Linked DNA regions of Homo sapiens: region 2 is linked to region 1. The links are contacts of gene promoters, found by promoter capture Hi-C in human tissues and cell types (Jung and others, 2019). All regions are on one chromosome and are shown on one strand. The core of a region is centred on a gene start or on the middle of the fragment in contact, and the rest is flanking DNA. Distances in the headings are between cores, read along the strand shown.

Region 1 (5,302 bases), core at 714-3,213:
CTAACAGAGAAATATAAGGATTATTGCCCAGCCATTTCTTTGCTTTGCAAAGGCTGGCTGGATTTAAAATTAAAATTATATGTCAAGTTTCATAACCTTCAGCAAGAAGGATTCCATTTGAATAGCATGTTCCAGGGAAGGGTCCCTTTGAGAATCCTATGTAAGGAAGAAAGCACAGTTAGACAAGTACACAAATCAGCAGTACAGTTAAAGAATATACAACCTAGCTACATGAAGTTTCTTTCAGGACAATGGAAAGTTTAATTAGGAAAACAGTAAAATTTTCTATAACAAATGAGAAAATCCATATGCCCATCTTTATAGAACAAAATCCAACAGTCCTGCTTTTAAGAGATGTAGTTTAAGAATAATGGTTACCTTCTTAACATGGTCAACTCAGCCAAATCCAGCACTACATCTAAAGTTAAAATACTGGAAGCACACCCGCTTTAACATCAGGAGCAAGACAATCATCACTCCCATTCTTGCACAGTATATTTGTTAATGTATTCAGAGCAATTAGACCCTTCCCCACAAAAAAAAGAAACAAAAAAAGGGTGGGAGAAGGGAGGGATGGAGGGATGGAGGGATGGAGGAAGAGAGGAAGGGAGGAAGAGAGGAAGGGAGGAAGAGAGGAAGGGAGGAAGAGAGGAAGGGAGGGAGGGAGAGAGGAAGAAAGGAAGCAAAGGAAGAAAGGAAGGAAAGAAGGAAGGAAGGAATTTATAAACAATACCCTGGATTAAGGTTCAACAAACATTTTCTGTAAACATTTACTAAAGATAGTAAATATTTTAGGTTTTGCAGATCATACAGTCCCTGTCACAAGCACAGTTGACCCTTAAACAACATAGATTTGAATTGTGTGGGTTCACTTAGAGAAGGATTTTTTTTTAATATATTCCTTCATATGGGCAAGTTCTGTATCCACAACCAAAAGTGGATCAAAAATACTGTGTTCACGGGATGCCAAACCTGCATATGCGGAGGACCAACTTTTCATATCTGTGGGTTACGCAGGGCCAGATATGGGACTTTGAGTGTGCACAGATTTTGGTATCCACTGTCCTGGACTGTACCGGACTTTGCTGTTGCAGTGCAAAAGTAGCCATAGACACTAGTAAGCAAATGCACATGGCTGCATGCCATCCGCCACATCTCTCTCTACTTAAGGACACTGAAATTGAATTTCATATAACTTTCACATGTCACAAAATATGATTCTTTTGGGTTTTTTTCCCCAACCGTTTAAAAATGTCAAAACCGTTCCTGTTTCCTGGGCTGTACAAAAAACAGGTATGCCAAATTTGATGACACACTGCCTTACGTTATTTTAACAGTAATTAAATAATTACTCTCAATTAATTCAACAGTATCTAACTATTAGATAAATTTAAACTTATCTAATGGCCTGTTTTTCTAATTTTTTGTGCAGTAAAGGTTTTATAGAAAAATTGTAAAGAATAATCAAATTATGAAAATGTTCAACTTTAAAACAGAATTTTTATTTCCTTCTCTCTCAAAAAAAAAAGGACCCAATCTCTTTAGCTGTTAATTATATTCCTGTAAACAGAGTAACCCTTAGGAATTTCTATTTGAACAATGGCATGCACACAGTTCTTAAATTCATTCCGTTTTCTTTCTTCCTTTTCTTTTTTTTTTTTGTGCTGAACTTCAGCCAAACATTAAACTACCTTGGGAAATAAAAGGTAAAAGAGAAAGAAGCACAAAGATGGTATTTGACCTTATTTTATGAGGACATTCAATCTTAATTTAGAGAAAAAGAATAGAGCTTTTTTAGTGTGAGAAGCATGAGAACTGGAAAGAAGTACAGAGTTTTTCAGACCAGCCTATTTTTCTAAGTTTGTTTTCCGGTAACTATGCTCTTGTTTCTATGCAGGTGAGGTTGTAGGTCAGGTGTGTGTGTGTGTGTCTATAAATCCACACCCATTTTTAACCAGAAACATCCAGAATACATTTCCAACAAGAGCACTGGCCAAGTCAGGTAAGCAAGCAAATTTTCCAGATTACTTAATCAGTGGTCAAGCTTTGCTATATTTAAATAATCACCTTTTGCTATTTAAAAGTGAAGCTTTCAGTAAAGGGTAGGAAAGTGAAATGAATTTTTATTTTTCTTCTTTTACTGAACTGGATTTCCTTTGCTGGTTTCATAGTTTTATCTCTATTTATATTAATGGTATTAGAATAAATTGACGTCAACCACAAAAACGACTCTTTGAAAAGTATTCTACAAGTAATGATAGCTCTTCTTTATATTCTTTTAAGTCTTGTTTTATTTTAAAATATAGGAACTTATAATATCAGTTACTTACGTTAAATTACTTTTGAAAAATAAAATACTAATGTCATAAAATGCTAATTGACCAATGTTTATACAATCTAATTGCTGACATATGGTTATGTGCCTCCCAAATGCATTTTAAGCTGCTGTAGGCCTGTAACCATGCCACATTTATCTGTGTTCCCCCAAGTAGCTTAACCTTGCAACTGATACTAAAGGACCCTCAGCAGTTTACACTATATTTTACCAAGGAAAGCGTTATTTATTCAAAATCTACAGTGTACAAGTTGTACTGCTTTGTCACAGAATATATTTAATATCTATTTTATAATTTATCAATGTAAAACCAGAAAACCAAGATTTTTATTTTTTAATTAGAAAGTATTTGACAATAATACATAAAGACTTGAAATTTTAAAGAAAAAATGGTTCCCGCTTAACTCTAAGCTTCGCAGCTTTAAAATAGCAAAAATGATGAGGTTATGCTTTTTCTTTTTTAAAATGCAGATTCCACCTGCTTGTCTCTGTAGCTAACATAGAAAAATCTTTCTAAAGATTCCTTCCAGATTGACTTTTCTTAACTCTTCTTTATATCCAAGATCCCTGGAAGAATTTTAATGACGTTTTGGACCCTATTCCCACGGAAAAGGAACAGAGGCAGATAAAATTTTGCACACAATTTCCAGGGGTTTTGAGCCTTCTGTAGCTCAGCCACAGGCCTTCTAGAAGCCTGCTGGATCCAGGTTAAGATCCTGTCCTAGGTGGTTGCTTTAGTTCCTCCACTGCAACTCCCAACCTGTCTAACTAAGGCTGCCTTCCCTGGGTTGAGCTTTGTGTTCCAGAGTCAACTGTCCCTGTCCTGTACTAAAATCCACCCTGTATTTGTTTCAGTCTTTAAAGTACAAGATGACCAAGGCCTTAAGGTACAAGATGACATTCTGAAATGTTTTATGGTTTAATAAGTTATGAGAACTTAAACTGAAATTCTTATCAGGCACCGTGATAATTGTTTAACAGGGTTTTTATATGCCTGGAAAGAAAGGACAGGAAAGGAGGGGAAAGGAGGGGAGAGGAGGGGAAAGGAGGGGAAAGGAGGGGAGAGGAGGGGAGGGGAGGGGAGGGGAGAGGAGGGGAAAGAGGAGGGGAAAGGAGGGGAAAGGAGGGGAAAGGAGGGGAGAGGAAAGGAGTCCGGGCGATGTAGCTCACCCTTGTAATCCCAGCACTTTGGGAGGCCGAAGCAGTTGGATCATTTGAGGTCAGGAGTTTGAGATCAGCCTGGCCAACATGGTGAAACCCCATCTCTACTAAAAATACAAAAATTAGCCGGGCATGATGGTGGACACCTGTAGTCCCACGTACTTGGGAAGCTGAGGCAGGAGAATCGCTTGAACCTGGGAGGCGGAGGTTGCAGTGAGTGGAGATGGCCCCACTGCACTCCAGCCTGGGTGACAAGAGCAAAAAAAAAAAAAAAAGAAAGAAAGGAGAGAGAAAGAAAAGAAAGAAAGAGAGAGAGAAAGAGGAAGGAAGGAAGGAAGGAAAGAAGGAAGGAAGGAAGGAAGGGGAAAGAAGGAAGGGGAAGGAAGGAAGGGGAAGGGAAGGAGGGAGGGACAACTGGGGATTAGGGAGGGAAATAAAGTAAGGTTAACCTGGAGTGGTAACTATTTTCAGTCCATAGAGGGGCTGCAATAGATACACCACTGGGAAGGGGAAAACAGTATAATGGGAGGAATGAGGAAATGTCTGGAGAAATCTAGAATCTGTAAACTTCTTTACCACCAAATTGTTGTTCTCCTCCACGACTGCGGTTGCTACTTTACAATAACTAGGTGATTAAAATTGCCAAATGTTTTACCAATGCCAAAACATTGTGTCTTATATATCTTTTCATTTTCCACAATGCCTACTACAATAAAATATAGCAACATCTTTGTTTGAACAGAATCACTAAAGAATCAGTCACTAGCCATTTTGGCTAAGGAAATTTTACTATTTTGGTGATGAGTTCAATACTAAATAATGTAAGCCAATAGGAAAGACGTCTTAAAGGAACTTCAAATCAATGTGAATGATGTCTGTATATTTATTTTATATTTTGAGGTAAAGTTTCAAAACTGCATGAGTCAACCATTTTCAAATCAGTTTTATATGCTAATGCTGTAACTAAACATCTCACAAGTATTAAAGACTTCCTGTAATATATTTATCAAGTGGTTTATGACCAGATCAGGCCCAACTTTGGACTTCAGTTTTTATCTTAACGTGCAAAGTATAAAAGATGCACATTGAGTTAAGAATCAGTTTGAATTCTAGCTAACCAGGAGAGAATGTAATCATGACAGTCTATTCTTCTCTATACATATGTCTAATTTATAGTAATATGATAGTACTTGATTTTTATAAAGAGCTGTATCATAAACTGAAGGGCAAAAGTCTGAGTAATTGTTGGAAGGATGAGAAAGGTAAGAAACTATAAAGGAACTGAAGGACAAGAATCCTCCATATTCTATTTTTCCTCTGATTTCTATTTTAAGCAATATTTATTCATGTATAATCTTATCTTAGTATAGAGTTAAAATATTTTGACCTATTAGATGAAGGAGAATCAAAAGGCAAAGAATATTTCTGCATGCTAAAAGTCACTTCATAGTTTACAAGACATCAAACAACATGATCTTATTTGAGTTTCGTCTTGTTGGTGTGAACACTACAGGGCGGTTCAGAAGCAGGCTTCGTGTGCCCTGATCCAGCTCTTTTTTAATTATACAGCACCATGCCCAGGAGGCTCAGAACATGACTTCTCACCAACTGAGCATGTACTGAGTTGATTAAGTATTTTAAAAATAAAATGTGAATGAAAGTTCTATGTGGTTGGTTATACCATGTCAAACCAAAAAAGCTGAACAGTCTGTCATCACAGTATTGGTCCAACTCTTAGCAAATATCTTCTAATAATAGCTTGAAGTAATTCACTGGATTCTGAGAATTCCTTTCTGTCATCTAGCT
Region 2 (5,302 bases), core at 1,400-3,899, 40 kb after region 1:
TGTACACACCAACCATCTAACCAGGTAGTCTTAGAAAGCACTACATCTCTTTGGGATTGTATCGCATGCAATATAATTACTTAAAAAGTCATTCTACCTTTAATTACTACAATTTATACATTACGAACTGAAATAGATGCTTCATTTAATCTAAAAACAGTTACTTGCTGTTTTTCCCTTCGAAACAAAAGGAAATTCTCAGAGGAGTATAGAACCAATCTCTTGAAACCTTTCTTCCTCAGCGGACCAGAAAGTCAGTTGTAAGAGCAACAGCCTGACTAAAAGAAAGAATGTAAACCAAAAGATGTGGAGCTATTGAGTCAGGGATTATGGCTACAATGGCCCCAGTAGATCAACCATTTACTACCTGGTTGGTCACTACAATGCTTTCCTTTTATAAGCACTACCTAAAAGAATCCCAACTCTTATTACAATGTGATCATTCTTTTAATGAATATCAGGACCTTGAACTGGCCCGATCCAGCACATGAAAATCACTAAACACATGAAAATCACTAAGTTAAACCTGTAGGAACATGACTGAACTCTGAAAATTGGATACGGTGGATGAAAACAAGAATCAGCAATGTTTAGCACTTTCACCACTACCAATGATGAAAAAAACTGTAAGTTGATACGAAAGCTTGCAAGGTACTCTGATATTTTGGAAAAAGCTAAATATAAGATAATCAATTTAGGAAAAAATATTACAAGAAAAATGTCAGAATAAAATGAGGTACCAGAGAACTTTGATGCAGGAGCTGCCTTTATGTACGGAAGAATAGACTAATTGGCAACACCAGCAGTTCCCCAAGTAAATTGGGCTGGGTTTGGGCTGTATCCCTGTGAAACCTAATTCTAGCAGTGACTTTGTTAAATATTGATTCCCAAGTGTCTGTATGTGAAGACAATTACCCGAGGGAAATGGGCTTTCATACATATACTTTCGAGGTAACAATGGATGCTAACACTGGCCTTATTTTAGAGCCTGCTAGATCTCTGACACTCTTTCACTATTCAGTTTAACATTGCAGCAATGACTTAGGAGGGTTCTTGAATTATTTGTCCTGTCCTTATCTATGCATGCCATTGTTGCAACAATAGTATATGTCAGATAGGTTAAAAATGTATAATATATGCATTTTACCAAAATAAGACAGCATCTATTGTAAGAAGGATCATTATTTTATATATAACACCAAAAATGACTTAAATTCGATGATGAAACATGACCAATTGTAAAAGGCATTCTCATTTCAGAGTTGGCAAAATGTTGAAAAAAATGTGCATCTGAGGATAGAAGAAATATAATTGTAAAAGACAGAACTGAAAGCTAATCTTGATTTCTAAGCTTAGATTTACTAATTCACAGTTTCCTGGATCCCAGAAACTGTGGATTAAGTTACTAAACTGTTAAGCTACTAAAAAAAAGGGATACAACTGTAACTCTAACACTTTGGGAGGCCACAGGGGTGGATCACTTGAACCAAGGTGTTGGAGACCAGGCAGGGCAACATGGCAGAACCCCGTGTCTACAGAATGTTTCTTTTAAAAAACAGCTGGGCATGGTGCCACATACCTGTAGTCCCAGCTACTTGGGAGGCTGAGGTGGAAGGCTCACTTGAGCCCGGGGCGGGTGGAGGTTGCAATGACCTGAGATCGTGCCACTGCACTCCAGCCTGGGTGACAGAGTGAGACCCTATCTCAAAATAAATAAATAAATAAAGTTTTTAGTATATTTGGAATTTAACATTTTCAATCTATACACCTAAAAAGTAAACTGAACTCTCCCTGCCTGGAATTTTAATATTATTTTCACTTACCTCTATACCTTACAATGTTCAAGTGAGGGTTTTGGAGCCAAAGCTTAATAGATATTTGACATTGACAAGTTATACAAATTCTTCATGACTCAGTTTGTTCATTTGTAGGTAGGGAAAATAATACAGGTAATAGTAGTACTCTTGTCGTATTATTGGAAGATTTAAATATATATATACAGTGTTCACAACGAATGGTGCCTAGCACATAGCATGCTCTGAGAAAAGGCAAGCCATTTTGATCACTGCACGTCTATTCAAAATATGCATCTCAGTAATGCAGAATTAAGTTCCATTGACATGCCCGTGGAAGGAGGAACAGAGAAAAGGAAAAGAAAGTGTTCCAGATCTACAGCTAAGTAACAAACCATCTCTAAACACAGTTCTGTATCTTAAAAGAGCGATTTTTTAATGTTCACTGATTTTTGTGGGTCAGTATTTCACACAGAGCACAGCTCCTGATGTCAGAGGCCTCAGCTGGGAAGACTTGAAGGCAAGGAGAGGACGGTGTGACTCAACGGCTGAGGATTAGAATCATCTCCAGCAGTCTTCACTAACATGTCTGGCAGTTGATGCTGGCTGTCAGCAGGGACCTCAGCTGGTCTGTCAGCCAGAAAACATACCTGTGTATTCTCCATGTGGTCTCCCAATGTGGACTAGTTTCGGTTCTCACAGCATGGCAGCTGGGTTCCAAGAGCAGACATCCCAAGAGAGCCAGGCAGAAGTCTTATTGCTTTTATGACCTTGTGTTGGAAGTCACATAGTGTCACACAGTACCACCAGATTTATAAGGAGGACACAAGAAACCCACATTTCAAATGGAAGGAGTGTCAACGTCACATTGAAAGAGGAGCATGTGAAATGAAGGATATTGTTGCAAGCTATTGAGAAAACACAATCTGATGGAGAGTAAGAGAGACAGTGAGAGACAAACTTTTAAGTCAACCTGAAAGATGACTACCTCTAACGGCACAGCCATATGACAAAACAATTTGAGGATGCACTTAATTTTGAAGAGTCAAATAACCATTGCCTAAACACAACAATTCATTCAGAACTATTGAAAGCATGCTAGGCTTCTATACTTTGAAAGAGAATGGACTATCACATATTTTTCAAAGCCACTTCTCAAATTAGGCAGTGCAAAGGTAACAAACAAAATAAAGGTTTTTTCAGATATATAGATAACCAGGACTTATCATAAACTAGGTAAGGAGAATAATTCAGTCAAGCTAGCATGTGCCTAGAAAATGAACAAAAACAACTCTATTTGTAAGCATTCTGTTCTTTTTCAGGACTAAATTGTAAAATTCTTATGATTTAAAAATAGTGGTCCTTTATTGTGCACTCATGTGCAAAGAGCTTTAGTGGAATGTGCACTTTTTAAATATCTGATCCTTGTAACATTATGAAATTAGTATATTTCCCTCCAATTTATAGATAAGAAAGCTAAAGCTCAGTCTAAATAATTTAACCAATTCTACCTGCATCCCAAATTCATGCACATTCTATTATCAAAGGCTACTTTTGGTTTGTTTATAAAATTTTCTTCCAAAGGATACTTAAGTTAAAAATAACCCAGACACTTCTGGCCAGAGTTTGAAATAGGGCCAGGTTAACTTTGAGTATTTTTGTGAGGATTATGAACCAGGAGAAAAAAAATTAATTAATTTGAAACGGGTGGATAGCAGATATCTTAAGATTTCTTAATGTGACAAAACACAAATTTTCAACAAAAAGAAATAAATATTGAGAGGGAGTTCCAGAAATCAATAAAGACAAAAAAGTAATAGATATACACATCTGAAGTAGTCTGCATCGATTGGCTGGAAGAATAAATATAGATGTTAAACCAATGTTTCTGAAGCTTAATATTGCCATTTTAAAAAAATAGACATTTACAGGAAAATGTTTCAGAACTTTTAACGTAGCAGACTTTTTCATTTTTCTTTATTCTTCTTTGACTTCTCCTTAGGTAGTGACCTGAGCCTCCCTCAGGGACATCTTTAGATTTGCGTCTTTCTTTTCTTTTCTTTTCTTTTCTTTTGAGATGGGGTCTCACTCTATCTCCCAGGCTGGAATGCAGTGGCAGGATCACAGATCACTGCAACCGCCCCCTCCGGGCCTCAAAAGATCCTCCCACCTCCGCCTCCGGCGTAGCTGGGACTACAGGCCCATGCCATCACATCCTGTTAATTTTTGTTTTTTGTTTTGTTGTTGTTGTTTTTGTTTGGTAGAGATGAGGTTTCACCATACTGCCTCAGCTAGTCTCAAACTCTTATGATCAAGCAATCTGCCCATTTCAGCCTCATAAAGTGCTTGGGGTTACAGGCGTGAGCCACCAGGTCCAGCCTACATTTTTCATATTGTCTAGATTAACATGCCCTTTCCACTTTCTCTCAGATGATAGAGTATTTTATTGAGCTAGTAAGATTTTGTTATTTAGAAAGTTTTTTTCAGTATAGTCAAATAAAGGGATTTTTGTTGTAGTTTGATATGTAAGCCAGAAGGAATCCTGAGTATTTTAAACATGTGTCACAGCACGAAACAAATTATAAAACTTTATAAAAGATAATCTGATACTGATGCTTCCATCCAAGTAGTGCATAAAGCTCTCTTATGAAGTTGGCTATTTACCTAACATCTTGCTGAAGTTAGGAAAACACTTTTCCTTCTTAAATTGAGAAGCATGACCAACTCTTAATGTACAGACACGCAAGCAGAAAATCCAAAAGCAAATTAAGAATATTAAGCTACATTCTTTCCACAAATAAGCTAGTTCTGACTATTTAAAAGAAGGGAAAAAAACACTCTTTTCTGAAGCCTTACCCAATAAGAGTTTACATAACACTGTCTTATAACAAAATGCCAAAATCACCCTGACTAGTTTTAAAATCAAGTTATTACTTGAATACATTTGAGAGTAATTTTAAATGTGAACAAGTGCACACACATACAAAGTAGAGTGAGCCAAGAAATAAAACAGTGGTGGGTGGTGGGAGTCGTTCTTGTTTTGGGGTTATTTTTTTTAACTGTCTTTCTATATTACCTAAAGCTAGTTACCTTTGGTTTAAATCCTTCCCTATTCCAAAAGCTTCTATATCTGAGACCCTGATTTTTTCTTAACCTTTAGATTCAAAATTTGGAATTAAGAGTGCCAACTTTACCATTTTACCATGGAGTAAATCATAATTTAAAGAAAACCAGCAGTTAAAATATTTCTGCAGCTAGCAACAATTACCAGGAGATCTGTTTCTGCAGTTACCTCTAGATCATCTGACCCAGGATGGATGGACTTAAATAGAATCACCAGAGGCCAATCAAGTGCTACCTGGCTTATTTAAATACACTGGCTGCTTCAGACTAATGCCTGAAAAGGGAAGTAAAAATTTCAGACCCTAACACTGATAAACATTCACCCAGTAGTAAATGATGACTACTCGAAGGTCCATCCTTTATAATCTTCAACTTATCTTCAAAAC

The links. Contacts are between HindIII fragments. The study calls those that stand out against the background at their distance.
Region 2: a contact is called between a fragment that was not itself captured here and the fragment with the promoter of AGR3 in region 1, in 1 of the 25 tissues and cell types used here (heart left ventricle).

Annotation. Positions count from the first base shown.
Region 1 is chr7:16,878,644-16,883,945 of GRCh38, reverse strand. It overlaps AGR3 (anterior gradient 3, protein disulphide isomerase family member), which reads left to right and starts at 1,963. Exons shown (of 8, transcript NM_176813.5): 1 at 1,963-2,002; 2 at 5,301-5,302. The HindIII fragment of the contact is 4,580 bases long and covers 1-2,418 here.
Region 2 is chr7:16,838,940-16,844,241 of GRCh38, reverse strand. No RefSeq gene overlaps it. Among named protein-coding and RNA genes, the nearest start is that of AGR2, 37 kb to the right of the region's middle. The HindIII fragment of the contact is 3,304 bases long and covers 998-4,301 here.